Regions from separate parts of the Homo sapiens genome. Here regions 2, 3 and 4 are each linked to region 1. Evidence: promoter capture Hi-C in 16 types of primary human blood cells and fetal thymus (Javierre and others, 2016). All regions are on one chromosome and are shown on one strand. Each heading gives the region's core, a stretch centred on a gene start or on the middle of the fragment in contact. The rest is flanking DNA. Distances are from core to core; before and after follow the strand shown. Region 1 holds the start of RHOD (ras homolog family member D). Region 2 holds the start of PITPNM1 (phosphatidylinositol transfer protein membrane associated 1). Region 3 overlaps SPTBN2 (spectrin beta, non-erythrocytic 2). Region 4 holds the start of LOC100130987 (a long non-coding RNA gene).

Evidence for each region. Contacts are between HindIII fragments. The CHiCAGO score rates a contact against its expected background, and 5 or more counts as called.
Region 2: a contact is called between the fragment with the promoter of PITPNM1 here and the fragment with the promoter of RHOD in region 1, in 1 of 17 cell types (erythroblasts). The highest score is 5.1, in erythroblasts.
Region 3: a fragment that was not itself captured here is called in contact with the fragment with the promoter of RHOD in region 1 in 1 of 17 cell types (total CD8 T cells); the score reaches 5.9 in total CD8 T cells.
Region 4: a fragment that was not itself captured here is called in contact with the fragment with the promoter of RHOD in region 1 in 5 of 17 cell types (endothelial precursors, erythroblasts, M0 macrophages and 2 more); the score reaches 8.5 in endothelial precursors.

What each region holds. Positions count from the first base shown.
Region 1 is chr11:67,055,087-67,058,303 of GRCh38, reverse strand. It overlaps RHOD (ras homolog family member D), which reads right to left and starts at 1,457. Exons shown (of 5, transcript NM_014578.4): 1 at 1,270-1,457. The coding sequence starts at 1,401. RefSeq lists silencers at 1,319-1,388, 1,399-1,558. The HindIII fragment of the contact is 21,888 bases long and covers 1-2,553 here.
Region 2 is chr11:67,503,900-67,507,116 of GRCh38, reverse strand. PITPNM1 (phosphatidylinositol transfer protein membrane associated 1) reads left to right here and starts at 1,754. Exons shown (of 24, transcript NM_004910.3): 1 at 1,754-1,929; 2 at 2,896-3,014. The coding sequence starts at 2,937. CDK2AP2 (cyclin dependent kinase 2 associated protein 2) reads left to right here. Exons shown (of 4, transcript NM_005851.5): 4 at 105-620. The coding sequence ends at 172. RefSeq lists silencers at 1,458-2,087, 2,298-2,457, 2,468-2,587, 2,668-2,767 and an enhancer at 2,546-3,217. The HindIII fragment of the contact is 23,305 bases long and covers 1-3,217 here.
Region 3 is chr11:66,698,003-66,701,219 of GRCh38, reverse strand. SPTBN2 (spectrin beta, non-erythrocytic 2) reads left to right here. Exons shown (of 38, transcript NM_006946.4): 17 at 1-694; 18 at 1,612-1,814; 19 at 2,138-2,228; 20 at 2,435-2,581. Among named protein-coding and RNA genes, the nearest start is that of RBM4B, 22 kb to the right of the region's middle. The HindIII fragment of the contact is 3,288 bases long and covers 1-3,174 here.
Region 4 is chr11:67,315,856-67,319,072 of GRCh38, reverse strand. LOC100130987 (a long non-coding RNA gene) reads right to left here and starts at 1,234. Exons shown (of 4, transcript NR_024469.1): 1 at 876-1,234. RefSeq lists a silencer at 814-863 and enhancers at 1,084-1,513, 1,554-1,603. The HindIII fragment of the contact is 3,873 bases long and covers 1-3,217 here.

The DNA of each region.
Region 1 (3,217 bases), core at 208-2,707:
CTCGGGAGGCTGAGGCGGGAGAATCGCTTGAACCTGGGAGGCAGAGGTTACAGTGAGCCGAGATTGTGCCACTGCACTCTAACCTGGCGACAGAGCGAGACTCCGTCTCAAAAATAAAATAAAATAAAATAATTTTAAAAATTAGCTAGGCGTGGTGGTGGGCGCCTGTAATCCCAGCTACTTAGGAGGCTGAGGCAAGAGAATCGCTTGAACCCAGGAGGCGGAGGTTGCAGTGAGCTGAGATTGTGCCAATATCACTCCAGCCTGGGTGACAGAGTGAGACTCTTCTCAAAAAAAATAAAAATAAAAAAAAAGAAGAGATGCTGGAAGCAACTCCATGGACTCCCAGGACAACAGGGCTGAGAGGCGGCAGAGCAGGGGCCGCCTGGTGCCCGTGGAGTCTGCCTGGGCAGTCAGTGAGCATGTCAGGAAGGATTAACGGTGGGCATGCCTACAGCGCCAAGGACATGCCAGCTACCGCACGGGAGCTGCCTGTCAGCCTCCCCTGGGCTCCACTTCACCACTGCCCTACAGTCCCTCTACCCCATGGGGTTGTTGTGAGGAAACTGAGGCTCAGAGAAGCTAAGCAGGTTACAAAAGGGCACGGGGCTCAGAGGAGAGCAGAGACGCGGGCCCAGCAGCTGAGGCTACAGCTGGCGTGCTCCCACCCTCCAAGGCAGAGCCCATGGCATGTGCTTTCCAGCGGCAAGAGCTGGAAGGGAGACAATGTTTCCCAGGAGCGACATGTGCCAACTCTCCGTGAGTCCTTCCTGTGCACAGGCCGGGGCTGAGTGCTTGAGGTCTATTAACTCTCTGTCACAGTGACCCTGTGTGGTGGGCACTGTCACTCACCTGTGATGTAGTGAGGGACACAGGCACAGCAGGGTTAGGGGACTTACCCAAGGGCACACAGCTATAAGAGGCAAAGCCATAATTTGAACCTCGGCAGTCTGGCTTCCAAGCTCTCAGGCCCTCAGCGGAATTGTGTGGCCAAGTGCTGTCTTAGGATCTTGTGTGCACCCAGGTCGCCTCACTCAGTCCTTGTGACACCTCTCCCCGGTGGATGCCATTCCTCCGGCTTTACAGATAACATCACTGAGGCCTTCATTCCCAATGGCTGGGGCGGAAGAACTCTGCCCTGGACCCCAGGCCCCGCTGGGACACCCCTCGGAGGCCGGGTTAGGCGCACAGCCTGGGCCGCTCCGGCACGGACCTGTACACCCGGGCGCGCGAGCGGAACCGGGCGAGGCGGAGGCGCGGGGCACTCACCTCGGGGAAGGCCCCATCGGCGAAGACCATCAGCAGCGACGTCTTCCCGCAGCCGCCGTCGCCCACCAGGACCACCTTGACGGACCGCACGCCTGGTGGCGCCTCCTCACCCGCGGCCTGGGCCGCCGTCATCCCGGGGCCGGGCGCTGAGCGGGCGGGCGGGCGGCTGCGGCGCAGAGACCCAGACTGCGCGGGGCAGGCCCGGCGGGGCAGGAATGTGGAAGGGGCGGGGCGGCGGGAGGAAGTGCGAGCCGGGCGCCCCGAGAGCCAGGTGAGAGGCCCGGGCGGCTGGGCTGGGGCCCTTCCTCTCCAGGCCGTCTAGGTCCCTGAAGAAACGCTGCCCGAGCACCTACTGTGAGCTGGCCGCGCTGGGGCCACGGGAGGTCGGAAGGGAGAAGACAAACAGCGGGACCATGACAGTGGGGGCGGGGGTGTGCTCAGGGGCTGGGTCCCAGATCCCAGGCAGGAGCCAGTGACCTTTAGTGAATGAATGAATGAATGAATGAATGGTGCATTTCCCCAGGGGTCTCAGGACGCAGCACAACACAGGCGTTTCATGCCAGGTGGGAAGGGGATGACCCCCTTCACTGGCCCCACCAGGCCTGGCCTGCCCCCTCCCGCAGCACCAGGAAGCTCTGCTGCAGGTGGGCAGCCACCTGACACCGTGGCTGGCCACGATCTAGGGAAAGCGATAGAACCTTCCCTCTGTAAAGTGTGAGTGTTTCTTATTATTGCACCATGAGATGTCCCCCTGGTGCCCAAGGGCCCGGGGACCCTGAACTGTTTAAGACAAAATCCAGGCCCTGCCTTGAGAAGCCCACGGCTTAGAATGGTAGACACGCAGGACATCAGTGTGATCAGAACTACAACGGGAGTAGGGACAGGCAGCGGGACGGGAGTAGGGGAAAAGAGCTCCTCGCCCACGTTGAGGGAGTCAGGAAACCTTTCAGAGTCTTGAGGAAAAAGTGAAACACAGTCAGATGGGGGAGGGAAAAGGTGTTCCACCGGAGACAGCGGCACGTGCGAAGCTGCGGAGGCCGGAGCGGAATGCTGCCCCCCCACCCCGCCCCCGCAGAGGGTGAGGCTCGCTTGCACAGTGGTGCAGCATGAGGAGCTGGTGCTTGCTCAGTGGAGCACGTTGGATGCCAGCAGTAAATCCAGCATTGAACTGGGAACTCATTGTCACCTGATCTCTCCACTTCTCCTAATGGCCAGAGTTGAAATCTTTTAAAAATGGGCACAAGGGTCTTCCCAGATCTTGGACTGAGTGTTTCTATTGAAGCTTAAAAGAACAAGGGGCAGACGTCATTAGGTTCCCCCTAATTTATGCTGGTCATGACATCCCCCCTCATGGAGTTCCAAGTCAGGCAGGTGAAAAAGCACCTTCAACCTCCTTTAAACTCACTGTGGTCTAAAGAGGCAGCCAGGGCAGGAGTCACTAGGTGGAGAGGCAGAGCCCAGCTCCTTGACTCCTCTGCCCGGCTCCCGCTCCGGGCTGTGGTCTGCAGGCTGGATGGAGCCCCACTTGGAGGGAAGGATCCTCCCCAGCACAGCTCTGCCTTTCCAGGTGCCCCTTCCTCCCCGAAACTGCCACAGGGCTCGGCAGTGACTTGACACTGGGCTGGGCAGGTAGCTCCAGAGCAGGGCTCCCCGCCCCAAGGAGTGGTGAGAGGGGCCCCACCCCCTCGGATCAGCTGTCAGCATCTTCCTCCCAACTGCTGCTGTCGTCAGGCCTTGGGTGGCAAGGCTGGAAGGCAGGTGGGGCCAGACTGGGGGTGGAGGGAGCTGAGAGTCAGGCAGAGGCGTTTGGCCTTGGTTGCTATAGGGATAATCTCTGTAATGACACACTTGATGTTTGTCATGCTATACAGTTTCACTGAACATTTCCTAATAATAACAACACCCATTAGTGGATTGCAAGCCACGTGTAGGCACTGTTCCCTAGGAG
Region 2 (3,217 bases), core at 505-3,004, 450 kb before region 1:
TTTCTTTTGCCGAAAGTGGAAAGGGAGTGGGGAGGCAGGGGTCCTCCTCTGGAGGGCAGTGGGTGGGGCTGTGGAGGGTTGCTGAGACCCCACCCCACCCCCAGGTATCATCCATGCCCGGGCCCTAGTCAGAGAGTGCCTGGCAGAGACAGAGCGGAACGCCCGCACGTAACAGGAAGCGCCTCGGCCTCAGCGTCTGGACCTATCCGGCCACTGCAGAGCACCCGCTTCTCCCTGGCCTTCATCCCGAGTTGCACTAACCATCCTGGGCTTCCTGTCCTGTGTCCCTTGGTGGGTCCCCTCCAGGAACCAAGGAGTGGCCCTCCAGGTGGCAGCACTAAGGACACCCCCCCACAACAAGAGTTAGCAGCGAGGTCCCCATGAGTCCCACCCATGACCTGCCGACAGTGTTGCCCACCGGAACTTTTGTGGCCCCTACCGCTCAGCCCTTCCCAGCACTTCTCCCACTTTGTCCCGAGCCTCCTTCTCCCCCAGCAGGGGCACAGGCCTGGCACCTCCCTGCCTTGTGTCCTGAGCCATAGTGACTCTTTTATCTGTGTGTCTTTTGCTAAATATGCCCTTTTTATATTAATAAAAGATGATTTGGAGTTGTGCTCTCAGCTCTGAGCCTTTCTGGGTCTGGTTCTTCAGCTAAGCCTGGGTGGGCCAGGCAGAGACAGGGGAAGAGGAGACTATGGATGGGGAGGGTGTGATTAAATGAGGTTTGACTTGCCTCTGTAGGCCATCAGCCTTTGGTGGGACCTGGGCCCTCTCCGCCCCAGCCGTGGCGCTGAGAGCCCTGGGCCTTCCTGTGGTGCCACCAGGGGGCAGCACAGGGCCTGGCTGCTTCCACAGCCCTTGGCGCTGTGGGCAGCCTGGGCCTGGAGGGCGCTTCCTCTGGATTGGCGGTGATGCCTGGCAGCATGGAAATGCCAGTTCACGTAAGCCACTCCCTCACACGCCCTAATGCCCTGACAACACCCCAGCCTCTGAATCAGCCCTGAAGGTCTCTGACTTCTCAGAGAGAAAGGGCACTGCTGCTTCCAGCACTTGGCCTCAGTGTCAAGGGGAGGGGCTGGCGGGGTGCTGCCGTCACTGCCCCAGCACCTTGTAGCAGGCTGGGTGGGATCCCATGAACCCAGCCTTGGGGTGCCTCGTGAGGCCTTTGCCCAGACTCCGGGTGGCTGGGTGACCGGACTTGTGGACCCGGAAGGCAGAGGTGGGGGAGGCTTTGTGGCACCATGCAGGGGCTAGCCCAGCCACTCACAGTGACAGCCCGTTTCTGCCTGGGCGTGTAGCTGGGTGACCATAGAGGCCTGGGGCCCTGGAGCCGAGCCCAGCCCTAGGTGGAGGCATGTCAGAGCCACCAGCTTCTGGCTAGACTGGTGGGGAGGCATTTCCTCAACCCTGGGTCCCAAATCTAAGGACTGCAGAGAGTGAGAAGAGGAGAGTGGGCCTGGGACCCCCCATATCAAACCACCCTGTGACTGCACACAGGAGGGCTGGGCTAGGGTGGAGATAGGAACTAAGAGTCTTTGGGGACCCCAATCAGCACAGAGGGACTAGGAAGAGCCAGAATTTAGGCAATGGCCTTTTTCCCACTGCCCGGGGGAAGGAAGGCAGGGGCCTCCCTCCCTGCCTCCTCCGCTGCAGGCGGGGCTGCCCGGACCCCGCCGGGGTGGGGAGGGCCAGCCGGGCCCAGGAAGGGGGCGGGGCGGCCGCAGTGACGCGGCGGGCGTCGGGGAGGGACTGCAGGGGCGCCGGCGGGCGGATCGAGAGGAAGGTCGGGGCCATGGGCCGGCACTGCGCCTCGGGAGGGTCCGGCCACCGCTGGAACCCGAGGCCGGGGCTGGGGGCGCTCCGGGCTCCGACCCACGGGCCGGCCGGCCCTGCCCGGGCTGGGTGAGGGGCGCCCGCCTCAAGCTAGAGGTGAGCCGGGGCGTCGGCAGGCGGGCCAAGAGCGCGGCAGGGGACCGGGACGCCGGCGAGCAGAGGGAAGTGGGGACAACGGGGCCTCTCGCTTGCTCGCGGGGTGCGAGTGGGGGATGGAGGGGTGCCTGCAGCGGAACCTCGGTGCCAGTCTGGGGCGCAGGTGGACGGAGCGGGTCTCCAGGGCCATGGCCCGTGGGATACCAAGTGGAGCCACTCTGGCCTCAGCCTGAGGAGGGCTCACCCCCTGGGAAGAGGACGGAGTGGCTGCCTAGGCGCGTGGAGAGCCGGCGAGGGCCAGGGGTCCAGGAAGGATGCTGGGAGGGGGAGGTCGAGGACCCGGCTGCCCAAGAAGGCAGATCTGGAGGGCGGAGGAGATTACCGGTCCCGGAAGGTAGGTTCGGGTGCAGGGCGTGGGGAACCCTGGCAGAGATGCTGGGCGCACTGGGCCACTCCGCGCAGAGACACTCGGGGAACAAAGCTCTAGGTGGACGTCCGAGAGTGGGGGACTTGGGACCCCGCCGACTCCGGGAAGGGGATGCAAGGGGCGGGTCCCCGAGGGGCCGGTCGCGGAAGGCGGGCCCGGAAGGAGGGGCCCCGGGGCTTCGGGGGCGCGCCCAGAGGGATGCCGTTTCCCGGGGTTAGGACGCGGTCGCAGCGGGAGAGGTGAGGTGGCCCTCCCGCCCGCCGGCCGGAGCCTGGCGCTCCGGGGGGCCCGCGTCAGCGCGCGGTTGCCATGGCGACGGGCGGGCGGGGGGCGGGGGCTGCGCGGAAAAGAGGTCAGCGCTCAGCCTCGCTGCGGCTCCCGGCCCCGGCGGCGCGGGCGGCGGTGCTAGGCTCGCCTCTGCCTCCCTCGTGGCGGGCCCGGACATGGGGTCCCGTGGCCTGAGTCCCTCGGCCGGCGCGCAGGGCTCGGGGCCGCGCGCAGCCTCCCCGCACTGACTGTCGCGCCGTGCCCTGCGCCAGGAGGAGCGGAGGCCGCGCGCGGCCCGCCGAGCGCCTTCAGGATGCTCATCAAGGAATACCACATTCTGCTGCCCATGAGCCTGGACGAGTACCAGGTGGCCCAGCTCTACATGATCCAGGTGAGGGCGGCGGGGAGAGGGCACCCGGGCAAGGGGTGGAGCCCTGCCGACCCCGCCAGCCCTGCCCCGGGGCTGGGACCGGCTGGGAGCCCGGAGGAGGCAAGAGAGGCCCCCCTTCAGATGTGGGAATGGGGAAGGACTGTGGGAAGAGGGGCAGGAGGGCCGAGTGGTGCTTCCCATCCGCTAAGTGCCCAGCCCTCCTC
Region 3 (3,217 bases), core at 281-2,780, 360 kb after region 1:
CCAGAACTACCACTTAGAGTGCACGGAGACCCAGGCCTGGATGAGAGAGAAGACCAAAGTCATCGAGTCCACCCAGGGCCTAGGCAACGATCTGGCTGGGGTGCTGGCCCTGCAGCGCAAGCTGGCCGGCACGGAGCGGGACCTGGAGGCCATCGCCGCCCGGGTGGGCGAACTGACTCGAGAGGCAAATGCCCTGGCTGCCGGCCATCCCGCTCAGGCAGTGGCCATCAACGCCCGGCTGAGAGAGGTGCAGACCGGCTGGGAGGACCTCAGGGCCACCATGCGGCGTCGAGAAGAGTCGCTGGGGGAGGCGCGGCGGCTGCAGGACTTCTTGCGCAGCTTGGATGACTTCCAGGCCTGGCTAGGCCGCACTCAGACTGCTGTGGCCTCTGAAGAAGGGCCGGCCACCCTGCCTGAGGCAGAGGCCCTCCTGGCCCAACATGCAGCCCTGCGGGGAGAGGTGGAGCGGGCCCAGAGCGAGTATAGCCGGCTGCGAGCCCTGGGCGAGGAGGTGACCCGGGACCAGGCTGACCCCCAGTGCCTCTTCCTACGACAGCGACTGGAGGCCCTGGGAACTGGCTGGGAGGAGCTGGGCCGAATGTGGGAGAGCCGGCAAGGTCGCCTGGCCCAGGCCCACGGCTTCCAGGGATTCCTGCGGGATGCTCGTCAGGCTGAGGGCGTGCTCAGCAGCCAGGTGAAAGTCCAGGGCAAAGTCCCAAGCAGGAGGAAGAGCAAAGTAGGGACCCGGGGAAATGTGAAGGAGCAGGATGGGCAGGAAGGACATGCTAGCAAAATGGGGCAGCGCAGTGGTTCACACCTGAAATTCCAGCACTTTGGGAGGCCAAAGTAGGAGGATCACTTGAGGCTGAGAATATCCAGACCAACCTGGGCAACATGGCAAGACCTTGTCTCTACAAAAAAATTTTTTTAAGAAAATAGAAGAATTTTTTAAAAAGAAAAATGGGAGCCAGACAGGATGGCTCACACTTGTACTCCCAGTATTTTGGGAGGCCGAGGCAGGAGAATAACTTGAGCTCAGGAGTTTGAGACCAGCCTGGGCAACATAGTGAGACCCCCATCTCTATGAAAAAAAAAAATTAACTGGACATGGTGGTGCATGCCTGTAGCTCCAGCTACTGGGGAGGCTGAGGCTGGTGGATCACTGGAGCCAGGAGTTTGAGGCTGCAGTGAGCTATGATATGCCACTGCACTCCAACCTGGGCCACAGAATGAAACCCTCTCTCAAAAAAAAGAAAAAGAAAAAAGAAGGAAAAATGAGAATGAAAAAGACGTGAATATAATTTACTAAAACTGACTTTAGAAGAAATAGAAAGCCCAGTTTGTCATGTAACTGTTAAATGGAATCAGGAGCTAGAAGTGAGATAGAACAGGATTTGGGCTGGGGAATGGAAGGTCCTTCCCACCCAGCTTCCCTGTGACTTTCTGAGGCTCCCATGCTGGCTGGCAGCCTCCCTGTCTTCAGAGCTCTCTGGGCTACCCTCCCTGTCTGCTTGTTGGTCCCTACCTCTCAGATTTGCCCCTGGGTGGGTCCCTCCTAGGGGGGTGAATTGTGCTGGGGAAAATGAGCTGAATGTCATCCCTCCCACACAGGAATATGTTCTGTCTCACACGGAGATGCCAGGGACACTCCAGGCTGCTGATGCTGCCATTAAAAAACTGGAGGACTTCATGAGCACCATGGACGCCAATGGGGAACGGATCCACGGGCTCCTGGAGGCTGGCCGCCAGCTGGTATCTGAAGGCAACATCCACGCCGACAAGATTCGGGAAAAGGCAGACTCCATTGAGAGGAGGTCTGATGAGGACAGTCCATGAATTAGGGTTCCCAGGGGGGAATCGGAGAAACAGGGTGACCTCAAAGATAAACGTGGCACAGGAAACCCACAGATGGGGCAGGAGCTGACAGAGAAGTAGAGGGGAAGAACTAAGTGGTTGGAGAGGGCTGGGAGATTCCACCCCCAACCAGGGCTAAAAGGAAGTCAGGATTCCTGGGTAGCCTCATTGTGCTCCCGGAAGGCGTTATTCCCCTAGAAGAAATGGAGGCCCCTAGGTTAGCCAAAGGGTCACAATCCTTTCACAGCAAATTCCAGAGTTTCACAAGAGGGTGTCGTTCCAGGCACAAGAAGAATCAAGACGCAGCGCAGCAATTTCTGGGCCGTCTTCGGGACAACCGGGAGCAGCAGCATTTCCTGCAAGATTGTCACGAGGTGAGGCTCCCTGGGGCCCCGGGATATTCCCTAGCCATCCCTTTCTCACCTTGAGCCTAGAATAAGTCCAGCACAAGGTACCGGAGACTGTGAGCCCCTTCATGGCTTCTTCCCAAGGCGCCCACTTCTCCTGGCTCACTGTGGCCCTGCTTTTATGCCCCCCTCTCCCCTCCCTTGGAAATGTCCCTGTTTTATGTTTGGTCCAGCTGAAGCTCTGGATCGACGAGAAGATGCTGACAGCCCAGGACGTGTCCTATGACGAGGCCCGCAACCTGCATACTAAGTGGCAGAAGCACCAGGCATTCATGGCCGAGCTGGCTGCCAACAAAGACTGGCTGGACAAGGTGGACAAGGTGAGCAGTGCTGTGGGGGCTGCCTCTGGGCAGAGTCCCCCATGGTACGGGGGAGGGCCTGGCTCCAGGACGTGGTTTTTGTCATGGTTAGAGATTGTGGGGTTCTGGTGCCACAGCTCCATGGTGGAAAGTTATGGCCTCTGGGAAACAAACGTCTTTGTTGGAGACAAAGAGTGGGACAGTGAGTCCAGAACCTTGATAAAGTACAAATTAGCAGGTAGCGAAACTGCAGCCTGGATTTAACGCCATAACTGTTCCTGAGTTCAAAGCAGGATGGTGCTCTTCAGCAGGCTCTGCAAACCTTGTCTGGAAAGGGCTTGGGCTGGATGGTCAATATCTGAGGCTTTGCAGTCCAAACAGTTTCTACTACAACTACTCATCTCTGTCGTTGTAGTGCAAAAGCAGCCTCAGAGAATAAGTGAATGAATGAACATGGCTGTTTCCCAATAAAACTTTATTTGTAAAAACAGGCAGTGGGCCAGATTACCCCGTGGGCTGTATGTAGTCTGCCAATCCTTATTTTCGAGTCTTGCCGTCCCTGGTTCTTGGTCTCCCACCCAGCTGTTCCTCAAGAGTCAAGGACAGATAAAGCTTTATATCTGCTCAGCAAGTATCCCTACAGAACATGGTACGTGC
Region 4 (3,217 bases), core at 234-2,733, 260 kb before region 1:
TGGCACACGCCTGTAGTCCCAGCTACTCAGGAGGCTGAGGCACGATAATCGCTTGAACCCAGGAGGAGGAGGTTGCAGTAAGCAGAGATCACGCCACCGCACCCCAGCCTGGGTGACAGTGAGACCCTGTCTCAAAATAAACAAACGAACAAAAAGCAAAAAACCGCCCTGCTTAGGAGAATGAACTTGCCCAGAAATAAAGTGAATTCAAAAATTAAGAAAAGGTCTTATGGTGGCTAGGGACTATTGTAGAAATTATCAGAAACGATAGTTGGGACCTGGGATAGCAGTTCCTCTATGCAGTCCCTGGGCTAAAAACTTACATGCGTCATCTCATTTAATCCTCAAAAACCTGAGGTAGTATTAACATTATCCCCAATCTTGCAAATGAAGAAGCTGAGTCTCAAGAGATGTCCTAACTTTGCCCAAAGTCACAAACCCAAGTTTCTCTGACTCTAGATCCCAAGCTGAGAGTCTTGCTCAGATCATCCCAGGTCCCCTTCTTTCTTCTTGCACTTGGGGTGCAATAAGGGGCAATGGGGCCAGCAGTGTGTAACATACTGCACCGTAGGAAGAGACGTTAGGATCATCGGTCTCAGCCTCCGTATTTTACAGAGGAAGGAACTCGTAGGTCACACAGAGCCAGGGGGCTGCTCTGCAACAGAATCTCAATGGACACTAGAATTCCAGTCCAAGCCCCATTTTACAGAGCGTGGGAACTGAAGCCCACCGGGCCTGGGGGCCTCCCGGGTTCCGAATCCACCAGCGGCTGAGCCAGATCCAGCCCCGGGCGCACTCACTGCCCTGTCTGATTCTACCTCCGCGTTCACCTGCGCCGCGAACCCTCCCCGTGGGCTGCCAGCGCCCGGGAGTACCTGTCGGCCGCGCGCAGGCCCTCGGCTCGGGGTGACAAGACGCTGGCGCGGGCAAGCGGGGCTTCGCGGGCCACAGCCAGATCTCGGCCTCGAGGACCCGGGTCGCCACGCCAGCCCCTTTCCTCAGAACGCCGAGGCCTCAGGAGCGTGTGCGCGCCGGGACGCCCCAGAGAATTTGGAAGCGCTGGTCCCGGAGGCAAGGCCGGCTTGGTCTCCTCTCCTCAATCCCCCGACGCCATCCCCTGGACCTTCTGCAGACCGGGTCCCAGCCCCAGCGCACCTCAGGAAGAAACAACACCTTCGCGCTTAGCTGAGTCAAGCGGCCAGGACTCTAGAAGGGGCGAGGTTCCCATGGCAACGAGGGAAACTCTTTGCGCCTGCGCAGAGGCGCTCGGCACGCTGGGAAATGTGGTTTCCGGGTTGTCCCTGGAGGCTAAGGGAATGGACACAAGGTGGCGCGCGAACGTTGCGGTCGATGTGGCTAAGCCCGGGTCCCCAGCTGCCGGGCGCTGCGGGCGCAGGAGAGGCCGCGAAGGTCTGAAAGGTAGTTTCTCTGAGGCGTCTGGGATGCGGAGTGAAGAGAAGGAGGCACAGTCTCTTCAGCGCGGTTGATTTTGCCGTTTGAAAACTTGGCCTAACAAGCGGCAGCCCTGGCTAGGGCGAGGGCAGTTGCTTCCGAGGCCCCGCCCCAGCCTGGGCTGAGCCGGGAGCGGCCGAGGGAGGGGGCTGTGACGGTGGGAGCTGGTTCCGGAGGGAAGCGCGCGACGGTCGTGCTGCAAGCGTTCCAGGTCCAGGCTGGGCGACCCCTCGCGCTGCTGAGAGGCTCCTATGCCCGGTGGGAGTTGAAGTCGGGCTCCGGGAGCAGCAGTCATCCTGATCCTCCCACCCGCGAGCTCCAAGCACTTCTGGATCCAGGTCCCGCCTTGGGCGGAAATGTGCAGTCAGTTGACTGCCCAGGAGCCACCTTCCCCGCTCCCGCGTTAGTCTCTTGGAATGAGAATCTAGAAACCTAGGATCTGATTCCGGCTCTGTTAGAGATTAGTAGTTACTTCTCTGAGCCTCAGTTTCCTCATTTCTAGAAAACGATGGTATTGGGGCAGGCGCGGTGGCTCACGTCTGTAATCCCAGGACTTTGGGAGACGGAGGGGGTGGATCACCTGAGGTCAGGAGTTAGAGACCAGCCTGGGCAACATGGCGAGACCCCCTCTTCTACTAAAAATATGAAAATTAGCCAGCGTCGTGGCACAAAAAAAAAAAAAGAAAAGATTTTTTTTTTTGGAGATGGAGTCTCTCTCTGTCGCCCAGGCTGGAGTGCAGTGGCACTATCTCGGCTCACTGCAAGCTCCGCCTCCCGGGTTCACGCCATTCTCCCGAGTAGCTGGGACTACAGGCGCCCGCCACCATGCCCGGCTAATTTTTTTGTATTTTTAGTAGAAACGGGGTTTCACCGTGTTAGCCAGGATGGTCTCGATCTCCTGACCTCGTTATCCACCCGCCTTGGCCTCCCGAAGTGCTGGGATTACAGGCGTGAGCCACCCCGCCCGGCCACAAAAGTGCTTTATAAAGCATTACCTGGAATGGGGGCGGGGGGGAGCCCTCAGACAACCTAAATGTTCATCAATAAATGACCACTTAACTGATGGATTCCATAAAATAGAACATGTGTGGTTATTTTTTAAATGAGGCAAATCTTTTATGTACTATTTGGGGGGAAAACTCAAATGGCGTTTTTCCTCTGCTCTCACACCATCACAATTATCAACACGTAAGACTTTGGTGACCAAAGATATTGGGTTGGCCAGGCGCAATGGCTCACGCCTGTAATCCTAGCGTTTTGGGAGGCCGAAACGGGTGGATCACCTGAGGTCAGGAGTTCGAGACCAGCCTCGCCAGCATGGTGAAACCCCCATCTCTACTAAAAATACCAAAAAAAATTAGCCAGGCATGGTGGTGGGCACCTGTAATCCTAGCTACTCGGGAGGCTGCGGCAGGAGAATCGCTTCAACCTGGAAGGTGGTGGTTGCAGTGAGCCAAGATTGCGCCATTGCACTCTAGCCTGGGTGGACAAGAGTGAGAATCCATCTCAAAAAAAAAAAAAAAAGGTGTGGGGTTTTTCTCCCCACACACCAAGCAACAGACCAGCTGGGTGGCCTCCAATTCAATTCCAACTCTGTCTACCGGGAGATAGTGTCGGATCGCACAGGTTGAGGCTCAGCCCCCAAGACTGCATCTCCCTCCCCTCAGATCCCAGTCAAAAGTCCAGGCCTCCAGAACTTCTGCCTGACCAGCTTCAAGTTGGGGTTCCCACGATCCCCTCTTTCGGTTTGATTAATTTGCTGGAG